Linked DNA regions of Homo sapiens: region 2 is linked to region 1. Evidence: promoter capture Hi-C in human tissues and cell types (Jung and others, 2019). All regions are on one chromosome and are shown on one strand. The core of a region is centred on a gene start or on the middle of the fragment in contact, and the rest is flanking DNA. Distances in the headings are between cores, read along the strand shown. Region 1 holds the start of MAT1A (methionine adenosyltransferase 1A). Region 2 has its middle 32 kb from the start of DYDC1.

Evidence for each region. The method cuts DNA at HindIII sites, captures the fragments that hold promoters and counts their contacts. A contact is called where the count stands out against the background at its distance.
Region 2: a contact is called between a fragment that was not itself captured here and the fragment with the promoter of MAT1A in region 1, in 3 of the 25 tissues and cell types used here (hippocampus, liver and pancreas).

The regions. Positions count from the first base shown.
Region 1 is chr10:80,288,388-80,294,737 of GRCh38, forward strand. It overlaps MAT1A (methionine adenosyltransferase 1A), which reads right to left and starts at 1,271. Exons shown (of 9, transcript NM_000429.3): 1 at 946-1,271. The coding sequence starts at 1,036. RefSeq lists an enhancer at 1,106-1,400. The HindIII fragment of the contact is 4,006 bases long and covers 1-3,430 here.
Region 2 is chr10:80,321,593-80,328,631 of GRCh38, forward strand. No RefSeq gene overlaps it. Among named protein-coding and RNA genes, the nearest start is that of DYDC1, 32 kb to the right of the region's middle. The HindIII fragment of the contact is 3,902 bases long and covers 804-4,705 here.

The sequences.
Region 1 (6,350 bases), core at 21-2,520:
CCTCTGTTGTCTTGACAAGCCCTCTGGGGGATTCTGAAGCTCCCTGAAGTTTGAGAACCACTGTCCTACACTTGAGGCTCTGAATGTCCTGGTCCTAGTTCTCACCGTCATCAAGGAAGCTTCTCTCACTTCCGCACATCACAGTCTACCTACTTTTCAGGGACCAAAATCAATGCCTAAATTTTCTTCCTGTTTAGAAGGTCTTCTATTCTGCTCTTAGAGAACGTTACTGAGTCCCCAGCACCTAGAGGTCTACCCCAGCAGTGACCAGGGTGCAGGCTTTCATGCCTAAGTTGCACATGCTTCACATGCAAAATTTAGTCACCCATGGTCTTGTTTCAGGAACATTCCCTGTTGACTTAAATTGGCCATGGATAATAGATTAAAGCTTTCCTAAAAAAAAAATACATATAAAAAGTTAAGACCTGATCATATATTTTGCATGTGTCATACTCTTAGCCAGCCAGCTGCTACTCCCTGTCTTGGACCCACTGTGCTGGCGTGCTGGTGGTGGGCCACAGCACGGCTTCATCAGGAGGGACTGTTTTATGAAACTACTCCATGCTGTTTCTCTAGAGATCCCTTCTGGTAACTCACACACATTGCTCTGAAGAGCTCTGGTAAAAGTGACTCCTACAGGTACGAAGTTACAGTCAGATAGGAGGAATGAGCTCTGGCATTCCATTGCGCAGTAGGGTGACTGAAGGGCTAGAAGAGGGAATTTTGAATGTTTTCACCACAAAGAAGTAGTCAATGTCTGTGGCAATGGGTATGCCCATTATCCTAATTTGATCATTAAATGTTATACTCATGGATCAAAACAACACACGGTACCCCATAAATATGCACAATTATTATGTGTCAAATTAAAACCATTTGTAAGTGACTCCCTCAGTATAGGCTTGGAATGATCGTTTTCCAGTCAGTCCAAGACAGCCTACTTACCCGGGTGTCCCTCTCCCACAGACTCCGATGTGAACATGAAGACTCCTTCACTTAGAGAGTGGTCACACAAGCCATCCACCGGTCCATTCATCTTCTCACACTTCTCCACTCACGCTTCTTTCAGTGAACAATTTTGAGGCTGTGACTTTGCCTGAGTTTTTTTTTCTTCTTCTTCTTCTTCTTTCAACCCAACAGGCTTGTCTTTGGCAGAGCCACGGGGATCACTTCTGCCTAACTGCCTGTGAGCACGTGAGAACAGGCGAGGACTGCTGAGAAGGGAGGGAGTGGATGGAACACGGGATGTGTCCCTCCCTCCAGCTTGCCACAGCTTGCTCCTGAGCGACTCCTATATATGGAAAAGCGAAAGTGCCTGAAAAATCATGTGAGAAAATTGGAGGAGTCCATTTCCTAAGAGGGGGGTCTTCTTACCTGGAGGAATTTCAATTCTTATCCCTGACTTTCCAAACTCTAAGCACCTGGTCAAGGTAAGGTAAAGAAGGCTGTATAGTTCTGCAGAATTGAAGCTCCTTTGGGACTCTCCTTCAGCTCTTAGCCAATCTTGGTAGTGCTCCAGAGTTCACAACCCACCTTGGAGAGCAGGGGTCTGTGATCACCCAGAGATACAAGCAGGCAACAAGAAACTCTTTCTCAGAGATATGGTTTAGGCTAAGATTGCAACAGTGCCTTTGCTGTTGGGTGTCCCCTCCTCCCCTGCGTCTCATCTGGATTGGTCTCTTCCCATTCTATCTTCTCAGGGAGAGCAGGAGCACGCACCTGTATTCTGAGCCAGCTGTGATGTTACACAACAGATTCATTTTAGAGGAAAAGCTTTGAGTCCACGTGTTTCTGCTAACAGAAACCACCTAACCTGTCAACTTCTCTAAAAGGCTGGCAGGCATTTTAACAAGCAAGATCTTTAAAAAGTATCTATCTGGGGAGGTTACAGAGAACAATGTGTGTGTGTGTGTGTGTGTGTGTGTGTTTTTTTTAGAAAAAAATGCTTTTGAGAAATGGATTCATTACAGGGAAATTATCAAAGTCCAGTTTCCCAAAGCTTCCGGATTATAAACATCTACATATTCAGTTCTATACATGTAATAAACATCGTGTTCACATAACTCTTGCATTATTTTTTGCTTTGACCAAAAAAAGTAGTAAACAGGATTATATCTTTAGTTCATGTACTAAATGACAGCGTCTCACACTCTCAGATCCAGCTGCATCCTCAGACCCAAGGAACAATGGGGAATTGAGACCACAGAAAATGAGGATGGGTGGAGAAACCAGTTCCCACTAGAATGCAATAAAAAGTAATCAACCATAACCTTGTGCATCAAAGCTTGGACTGTGGGAAGCAAAAGTTAGGAAGCAATAGCCTCACCTAACAATTCTGGTGACCAAACCCCCCTCTGAGTTTATTATCAAGCATTTGGAAAAATTTTTTCTGGCACACATTCTGGTGCTCCAAAGCTTGAGTTTTGCTAACTGATGACCAAACATCATCCCTTCAGGGAATTAAAGCAGTATTAAGGTGACCTCTTCTGGAATAAAGTAAGGGATGTTACATATGCATAGCCAATCAACGGCATTTAACAAGGAGTGAACTGAAGTGCTTAGGCACAAGACTGTTGAAAGTTCAGAGAGGAAAAGGCCACTGGGAAGGGATGGACAAACGAGGAATCAAATAGGGACTTTAGACAACATCGCCTTGTCATTGCCAGCACACAGGACTCCTCTGTTTGCACTTAAGCTATTTCAACATTGCTGGCCCTTAGTAAATTTCTTCTGGGTACATTAGTTTTAAACCTAGAGGCAATATGAGCTAATGTTTAATTTGAACTGTAGAACTAGGTGACCTTAGCAGTTAAAATTGTATGATAACAATTATGGTCCAAATTTGATTTAAGAACAAGATGATGTGTAAGTAGCAGGTACTCTTCAAGGTTCCTAGAGTTATCAGGAAGACAGAAAACAAAGCAGTAGCTGCCTTCTGAATTCCATAAGTAACAGCACCATGGGGTGGAAGGCGTCAGGGTGGGGAGACGATCTGTTACACAGATATGTGTGCAGGGGGCTTTGGCAGCCTGGATGCCAATTGAGGGTGTGAGGGAGGGATCTGAGAGGCACCTCGTTAAAAACTCATCTCAAGTATGAGTTTCATTTAAGACCCCAACTAAATACTAGGATGCCTTATATTCTTCTAGCAAGTAAATGTTAAGAAGCAGTACACGGAGCATGGTGGATGGAAGTGCAGGCTTCTGGACTAGGGTCCAACTTTTGCCTGTAACCTCCCATGCAGCATGGAGAAGGCTTCCTAACCTTTCTAATCTGTTGTTTCTTCTGCTGTAAAGCGGGTTAAATAATTACCTACCTCCTAGTGTTATTTTGAGAACTAAATGAGGTCATTTAGGTATGATGAGTATTGGACAAAGTGCTAGCACACAATACAAATTTAATAAATATCAGCTAATATTATTAAGCAGTCTATTTACATACATATGATTTTCCTCTGAACAAAAATAGATTATGGTATGTATACATATGTATGTATATGTGAATATACACATATACACATATAATTTTGCATCTCGCTTTTTTCCCCCCACAATATATCGTGGCCCTCTGTTCACATCTCTAAATACAGATAGGCCTTATGTTTTTTTATTGGGGGGGGATGAAGTCTCACTCTGTCACCCAGGCTGGAGTGCAATGGCATGATCTCAGCTCACTGCAACCTCCGCCTCCCGGGTTCAAGTGATTCTCCTGCCTCGGCCTCCTGAGTAGCTGGGATTAGAGGTGCACGCCACCACACTCAGCTAATTTTTGTATTTTTAGTAGAGACAGGGTTTCACCATGTTGGTCAGGCTGGTCTCGAACTCCTGACCTCGTGATCCGCCTGCCTCAGCTTCCCAAAGTGCTGGGATTACAGGCGTGAACCACTGCACCCAGCAGGCCTTATTTTTTAATACTTGAATAGTATCCCACAATAAGGATGTACCATAAATTATTAAACCATTCATTCCTCAGTGGTTAAATATTTTCAACTTCTCCAGTTATTTCACATCACTATAATGCTGCAGTGAAGGTCCTTATTCATCAGTATGTTTCTGAAAAAGATAATAATGGAAGGCTCTGGCAGTGCAGAACTAGCCAAAAGATTTCACTTTTGCAATGAATTTTACCTGATAAAAGAAGTAGCAATTCAACCAAGAGTTAAAATTGTAGTTTCAATCTACCCCCTTCAGAAAGAATTGGCAGATCTTAGCAAAGATGTAATTACTTTGAGAGTTGAACCTACAAGGACTTCATGGCCCTAATTTACCATCATAAACACAAATTAAGTCCTCCCTTACGCACAGCCTGTTCCCATCTCTCTTATGCTTGAATTGTCCCAATGGCCACTCCAAGCCCCAAACTCCACACTGGACTGATTACCTAAGTCCAATGTGTCAAAGGCACACAGTTGATCTCACTGACATGCAGCAGCCTTGAACTCTGAAGCTTCACTGACAAGCCTCTGGAGAAACTTGGCTTTCAAAATAAATCTCTCTTTCAGTCAGATTTACCCCGATGAATCTCTGAATATAAAACATCCAGTGGAAGACTGTTTCCAATAAGCAGTGCCTGTAAGTCCCACTGAGCAGTTTAGTGATGGAGCTTCGAGGGCACCTGACCCTAGGCAGCACCACGGGGCCGCAGGGGTGGTGGGGAGGCCCTGCCAGATGGTACCCTTTGCTGGCTCTGCACTGCCATGCCTGATGGGGAGGCCACAGGGAGGACCCTAGGTGCAGAGGTGGGGGGTGCAGGTGTTGTCTAAGTGCAAACATTTCTAAACTTTGGCTAGAAGCTCCTCTGACTTAAACGGCTAAATAATGAAATATTTTCAAGTGGATATACTGCTTTTGCCTCATTAATTTAAGCACAAACTTTTCCTGTAGATGCCACTCTGGAGCATGAATAAGTTACTTATGAAAGAAAGATGAAATTGATTCAGATTGTACATTTAGATATCAAAATAACAAACAGAACTTTGATAAAATAAATGTATTATGCTTTTCCCTTGTTAATCCGTCTTTTGTTATAAGAGCATCAGCTGTGACCCTTATGATGGGTAAGGAAAGCATAACACCTTTCCACCCCTACACACCCATATACAACTCCTATTCTGAAAAGGAAGAAAGACATGTTGAAAGACTTAATGCAAAAAGCAGGACTCAAGCTAGGGCCCAAAGGAATTACAGAACTTAGAAAGGCAACAGGAAGACAGAGAGGGTCTGGAAGGGAAAACTTCCCCAGCCACAGCTGGTGAAGTTAGTGCAGAAGAACATTGCCCCAACCCCACCTGGGGAGGGTGGGAGCAGATAACTGGGCAGGGAGGTAATGGCTGAGAAGCCAGGCACTCTAAGCAGTAAGTAGTCCTCTAGAAAAGCAGTGAAATGGGTTTCATTCTGACAGTGTAGAGTGCAAGTTAGATTTGAGAAGGAAGACTCCAAAATCAGAGAGAAGAGTTAAGACTCTTGCCTTGATTGAGGAATAACCTAATGAAGAACAGACCCTAAGATGTTCATGCAATATAATGAAATCCAGCTGTGCATTGTCATTTTTCAAAACTGTATTGTTTTTCTTAGTAGAATCACTTCGTCCCCCGACTTTAGAGGCTTGAAATCCTGGGAGGCGGTTTCAATTCCTGATTGTCTATCATCATATCCAAGTTTCCATAGTCTGTTAATTCTTTTTCAAAAGTGCCTTGGAATTCTCCCCTCCATTTCTGTGTTCACAGATAGTCACCTCTGCACCCATCCTTATCATCTCACATTTGAGTCAGGCATCAGCTGGGGCCAACTTCCCACACCAACATACCCTTTGGGGGTTGGCACCATGTTGCACATACCAGGAGTTTTAAAACTACCTGATGATTCATACCTAGAAAGATGAGCATCCCAGCTGGGCACAGTGGCTCACACCTATAATTCCAACACTTTGGGAGGCCAAGGCGGGTTGATTACCTGAGGTCAGGAGTTTGAGACTAGCCTGGCCAACAGGGTAAAATCTCGTCTCCACTAAAAATACAAAAATTAGCCAGGCATGGTGGCGGGCACCTATAATCCCCGCTACTCGGGAGGCTGAGGCAGGAGAATCACTTGAACTGGGGAGGCGGAGGTTGCGGTGATCCGAGATCACACCACTGCACTCCAGCCTGAGCAACAGAGTGAGACTCCATCTCAAAAAAAAAAAAAAAAAAACAGAAAGAAGAAAGATGAGCATCCCTTAGGCTAACTCACCCTGAATTAAGGCATGCAAACAATATTTACATAGTGAAGGCCAAATCAATCTCCCCGAAATACTTCCACTCCAGAATATCCTTTATCAGGAAAAACATGAAGCACAGTATCACATACAAAGAC
Region 2 (7,039 bases), core at 1,505-4,004, 35 kb after region 1:
ACTTTTAATATTTTTAAAGCAGAAAACAGGCTGGGCGCCGTGGCTCACACCTGTAATCCCAACACTTCGGGAGGTCGAGGTGGATGGATCACCTGAGGTCAGGAGTTTGAGACCAGCATGACCAATATGGTGAAACCCCATCTCTATTAAAAATACAAAACTTAGCTCAGCATGGTGGTGTGCTCCTGTAGTCCCAGCTACTCCGGGCTGCTTGAACCCAGCAGGCGGAGGTTGCAGTGAGCCAAGATCATGCTACTGCACTCCAGCATGGGCAACAGAGTGAGACTCCATCTCAAAAATAAGAAAAAAAAAAGAAAAAATATATTGAGCCAAATCCATGAATCAATTCATAACCATCAATGTATTAATGTATTAAATATGATATACATGGTTTCTACATTTCAGAGAATTAGCTATCACCCTGTCTCAATCCTAAAAGCTCTTTACATAGAACACTGCTATAATGTACTTAAATTTCTATTTGACATCTGTCAGCATCCCGAAACACCTACGTGTACACACAAAGCTTCCATTTTGAAATAAAAACAAAATGGCCATAGCCAGTCAGTGTAAATCCCTTTTATTTTTAAAAACTGAAGATTGTGTCATCTGAAATGTTTAAATGTGTAGAAATTTAAAATATCACCTCCTTCGCTCTAAGTCAACTCACCCTAAACTCAACACCTTGGGTGGTAAATCTGGGATATTTACAGGCTCTCAGTCCACACTTTCCTCGTGGGGTTAAACAATTGACTGAAGGTTGCACAATATAGCCAAAGGCTATGGGAGAGACACAAGCAAGTCACCTTTTTCCCAGAATACAATGTCTTCACTATACAAATTCCTATCCCAAACAATGAAATAGGGAGTTAGAGCATTTGAGGGGAAAATTGTGGAGAAAGAAAATTCAGCCATGAAGTACTCTGGCTTTAGTTTTCTCTTGATATTTTTGTCTTTCCCTTATTTGCTCTAAAAAATATTTTTATATAAATGATTAGTACACTTTGAGTCTGAGTATTTTAAGTGAAAGGAGAAACTATTACTTAGATAACTTAGGCCAAACTGATCCTCTCACACAAGCTTTCATTCTGAAAATACATACGATTTGGTCACAAGTGTTTCATGTTCTCAAATGTCTACCTAATTATTTCATCTGGGGATTTGACAGCAGATTTTAAAAACCTTTATGTGGAAGGCAGCCTCTCCATCCCTACTCTTTCCCTGAGACCAGTTTTCTGGGAGAGTCTTGCAGTTTACAAAGCATTCTTACAGGTGTCAGCTCATTTGAGTGTCACAATGACTCTGATGTGGGGAGTGCTGACCTCATTTAACAGAGGAGGAAGCTGAGGCCCAAAGAGATTAGGTGATTTATTTTGGCTTGTACAACTGGTAAGTGGCACAACACCTAAACTCAGCCCTTCTGACTCCAAGTAGTCCCCTTTTCCTACGCTGAACTGCCTACTAAAGTTATTTTAATTTTTACCAATTCAAGATAAGTAATTACCTACAAATTGTGGCTGCTTATTTATCTGCTGCCAGCTACTCTAATGCCTTCTGCGCCATAGCTTAGAAAAAAGCCTTTTACACCCTCATTTGCAGAAAGCTTAACACTGACTGTTCCAAAGCTATACCCAAAGAATCCTTGAACAATGAAGCAAACACACATCTCTAATTCCACTGCTCAGTATTATCTGCTCTCACAAGAATCACTTGTACTGAAGTACTGAGTGCAGTGAATCATCAGACATCATAAAGGCTCAGAACCTGCAGCATGGGCCAGAGGCATTGTGCCACCACCCACCTCCCCACGCAAAGCAGCCCTCTACTACCTTCCTTAGAACTGCTGCTCTGCCCTAACCTCCTCCAGCAACCCCAGGGCCGATCAAACACGTTTCCTCTCCTCTCCTCTTCTGAGTATACCCCAGGCCCTTGTTATTCAGTGTGGTTCCTTGACTAGCAGCCTCAGCATCACCTGGGAGCTTGTTAGGAATGCAGGCTCTGGGGCCCCACCTTAGGCTTGGAAATTAGAATCTACAGTTTAAGAAAAAGCTCCAGGAATTTATAAGAAATTACAATATGAGAAGCAATACCCTATAAAAAAGGACAGAGCAACTGAAATCCATCCTCTCTGTCACACCATCCATCCTTGGCTACTGGTTCTTTAGGCTCTCAGAAGGTATTATGGCCACATTCAAACCCTTCAGCACCAGCCCACCTGCTCATCCATTCCCCTAGTATATCCAATCCAGCTTGGTTTTATGGTTTAGTAAAATAGCTTGGCTACTTTACACTAAAGTATGAATAGCTAAGTGCCTACGAACACAGTGGGTTCTGATGGAATGTTACTAAGAAATGATGAGAAAGTTTTAAAGTCAAAAAAATTTGGGTTTGTATCTCCATTCGCTCAACGATCAGCTGTGAGAATCTCAGAAGCTTAAATAACTCTCTGAAATTCCATTTCTGCCTGTAAAAATTTAAGCTGTTATCTATCCTATATAAGAAGTTGAAATAAAGTATCTTGTGTACCAGGACTGGCACATAGTAGGTGTTTTCTTTCTTTAATGAATGAACCATAACATCAGAGGTAACTAAATTTCAAAATAGTACTGACACAAATAAATATCTAGTTGGTGTCCCTCCAGCCAGTGCGGCCACATGGGAGACACTCTGGGGCATATAAGCATTTCCTGTGAGTCATAAAATCCCATCTGCCAACCACCATCAGCCTTAGCTACACTGGAAGTCACTCACTGCACACCCCCCACCTGGAAAATTCTCCTCTACTAACTTATACTTTAGAGTCCTCTGATTCAAAAGCTGCTTCCCTTTCTCCTTGAAGAGTTTAATCCCCAAATTGAAGAAACAAAAATAATGGCAAGGGTGTAGGTAAGTTGAGATGTTTAAACTGTGACAGGCTCGTTTTTAGCACTTAAAATTTCATTTCAGCAATATCACCAATGTACATGCAATGAGCTAGAATGCTTATTATTCATTAAAACTGGTAAGAGAGTGCTTTCCCTGATTTTGAAATTGTCAATTTGATTATTGACTGTACTTGAAGACAATTTAATTGAAAAATCTAAACGAAAATACATGAAATAATTTTTAAAGATAATCCTTAAACTACATAAGTTTTTCAGAACTAATAATGGTTCATTACTTTATTAAACAAAAGATCAAAAAGCACAAAATATTAAAAAAGAGACATGTAAATAAACCTTACTTTTGCCAAACAATAAAGACCATAAACCAAGTTAAAAGGCAACCAACGACCTGAGAGATTTCCCAACACATATAACCAGCAAAGAAATTCAGTCAGATAAACAAATCAATAGCAAGTATTAGCAAATAATATGAACATGCAATTCCCAGAAGAGCAAATCCATTGTCCAATAAACATAAAAAGATATGTAACCTCACTAATAATCAGAGAAATGCTAATTAAACAACAAAAAAGCTACCACATTGCACTCCCGCCATGGGTAAAAAATGTTGACGTGTAAGATTACCAAGTATCTGAAAGGATTTGACATAACAGGAACTCTGTCCTCCGGGTAGGAGTGTAAACGAACATGACCACTTTGGAACACAATCTAGCAATATCTAGTAGCTTGAGAATGGCCACAACCTGAGCCCCGGGAATCGCACAAGTGTGCCTTGTATACCCAGCCAAGAGTAGCATTTTCTTAAGTGAGATTGCTGACCAGCAGTAGCAGCAGCATCTGGGTGCTTGTTAGAAATGCAAATTCTCCAGCCTATCCCAGACTTAAAGACTTACCTGGGAGTGCCTTTTAAGAAGCCCTCCAGCAGATTTAGGTACATGCTCAAGTTTCAGAACCAAGAGAGAAACTTCACACATTAGTTCTCCCATCTTCCAACAGGAGATTGTGTCAGAAGGGTACTAGGAATGTGGTCCTTGATACATTTTTTAAGGAGGAGAGTCTGACAGACCTTCTTTACTAGTACAGTGTCACTTGCGAGTCAAGAGAAAATGTGCAAACAATGGGATTCCCTCAAATACACAGAGATACATACATAGGTATATGTATAAAAGTAAAGCATTTAAAACACTCCAAACACCCACCAATAGAAGAACTGGTGCAATGGTTATGTTACACAGCAGTTAAAATAAATGAAGTAGATATAAATGTATCAGCAGGAATAAATCTTGAAAATATAATGCTGAGTGAAAAAAGCATTAAGTTAAAATCTCACCCAAAAAACTGTCTTATTTATGGATAAATATACATTTGTATTAAGACATCAAATATGTATAAGTGGGAATTACATCCACTGATTTTAAGATAATGGTTATATGTGGGCAAGAAATAAGAGGAATGGCATGAAGGAGGGGTACAAAAACATCAACTGTAAGATTTTGTTTTTTAAAAAAGCCGCCAATATATGGTAAAATGGTAATATTTGTTAATTCTGGATTGGGATAAAAGACATTGCTTATATTATTCTGTGTACTCTTCTGCATATTTGGACTATTTTACAATTTAAAAATTTAAAAGTTATTCCTTATATTTGCAAATACTAGAAAGGCTTATTTCTGTTTAAGAAAAATATATTTCAAAATGACTACCTCAAAAGGCTTTTAAAATTGAATCTTTGTGACATCTAGTGGTAACATAGTTACAATTTAATATACAATTATAAATAAGCTTGATTCAATGTAGTATTGATCTCAGAACAGTTGGTTTAATTTGACTTTCACAAAAATTAATTCAATTTTCAAAAGCTTGTACATTTATTTGCTGTTTTCAGTGTTCTATTCCTGAATATATATATATATATATATATATATATATATATTTTTTTTTTTTTTTTTTTTTTTTGACACGGAGTCTTGCTCTGTCACCCAGGCTGGAGTGCAGTGGCGCAATCTCGGCTCACTGCAAGCTCCGCCTTCTGGGTTCACACCATTCTCCTGCCTCAGCCTCCCGAGTAGCTGGGACTACAGGTGCCCGCCACCATGCCCAGCTAATTTTTTGTATTTTTAGTAGAGACGGGGTTTCACCATGTTAGCCAGGATAGTCTTGATCTCCTGACCTCGTGATCCGCCTGCCTCGGCCTCCCAAAGTGCTGGGATTACAGGTGTGAGCCACTGCGCCCGGCCCTATTCCTGAGCAAGGTTATTATTATCTTGTATACGTTATTTCTGTGGCTCAGCTGATGGCTTCCTGAAATATGTGTCAATTATGTTAATTCTAGTGTCCCCAAAACAGGTGGCACCCCTGCCATCCCCCTCCCTGGCTCAGTGAGAGAGCCATGAAGGAAGTTCTTAGTGTCTCCTTTACACCATGTTAGACACCAGCCAGGCAAGTGTCCCTCGAAGCCAGACCGGCACCTCTGCCTGACCTGAGCGCTCAAGGACCCACCATTGTTCAAGATTCAGGTTCTTCCTTGTCCTTCCTTGTCCTCCACCCCCATTCGATCAACTCCCAAGCCCACCTATGAAAAGCGTCACACCCATCACTTGTTTCCTGTAGAGGTCCTACAAATTGTGAATGATGTGCGAGCAGAGACCATGTTTTGCGTATATGCTTCCCATGAGAACCCAGTACAATGCTTGATACATAGTAGGCACACTGTAAGTGTTCACTAAATTAATTTCCACTGCTACAACCTAGGTACCACCTTCATTACCTTAAGCCTAGACTATCTTAACAGCAACCTTATCCTAAAAAATCCTAAGTACCACCAATGAAGCATCTTAAAACATCTCTGTAACATAACACCACTTTCTCATCCACCACTCCCCAAAGGGATTTTCACTGTATAATTCCCATCTCTATTCCCATTGTCAGCAGATGCCATCTAAATATCTTAGCCTGCTATTTAATAGGCTTCAAAAACTAGTCCAGATCGACTTTATGAACTTCTCCCTCACGACATCCCTGTACAAATCAGTTAACCTTCAAGCATCCTACAGGCATTCCCAGCATTATTTATTTCTCTGCTCACATTTTTCCTCCTGCCCACCCACGATCAGTTATGTGCCTTTGTGTTTTGCTGGGTTTTGTTGGGTTTAGCCTCTTACTTCCATGAAGCTCGATGTGACTTCTCTCTATGTAGAGTTAATCACAGTAGCTACCAAAGGGGTCTGTTGAACCTTGCATCATTATTCATCTTCTTTCCTATGCCCTTGCTCACCATCAGGATGCGTGCACCTCAGTGGTAGGGGACCACCTCTCACACCAGTTTATGCACTCAGAATCTAGCTAAGTGCTCAGAAGGGGGACAACTAAAAGAGATGTGTCGAAATGAGAAAAACTAGGTAAAGAGTGGATGGCCATTGATTGCAATCGGTATAACCCCTTTTAAAGCATTTCATGTGGAAAGTAGCTGTGAAGGCCCCACATGATTCTAAATAATGTATTAAGCTGATCTTTTATATTTTGACAAGGAGCTGAAGACAGTGACAGCAGGAAAATGACTAGTTAAGAAACCAATCACTTGCGGCTTCAGAACATGAGAGAAAGAGGAGTGAGTATTAGGCTCACTGTATTGGTCTAGAAGCATGGCAACCACAGAAGAGTTAAGAATGACTCCCACACTATAAATTGGAGCATTTGGACAACAGTGAAGCCACTTTATTATACTAAAGAAGTGAAGAGGAGGCCAGGTATCATGGATCATATTTGTAATCCCAGAACTTCAGGAGGACGGCTGGAGCCCAGGAGTTCAAGACCAGCCTGGGCAACATGGTAAGACCCCATCTCTTAAAAAAAAAAAAAAAAAGTGAAGAGGATAAAAAACTTCTAGGAAAAGTGAAATAAACTCTGTTTTAGAGATAGGCACTTTTTAATGCTGTTGGAATCTGCAAATGTATTCAGTAGTTATATTTCTAACATAACTGGGTGACAGGACCAGTTTCAACACTTACTGGTACAATGCTGAATGCTACTCTTTGAGACTTCATTTCCCTATACTTTCAAACACAAGCTCATACCAACTCTATAAACTCCCAGGGGAGCTGTTGGCATTAGTAAGTACTCCATGCTAGTCTCTATTCTCTCTTCTTCACCAACTT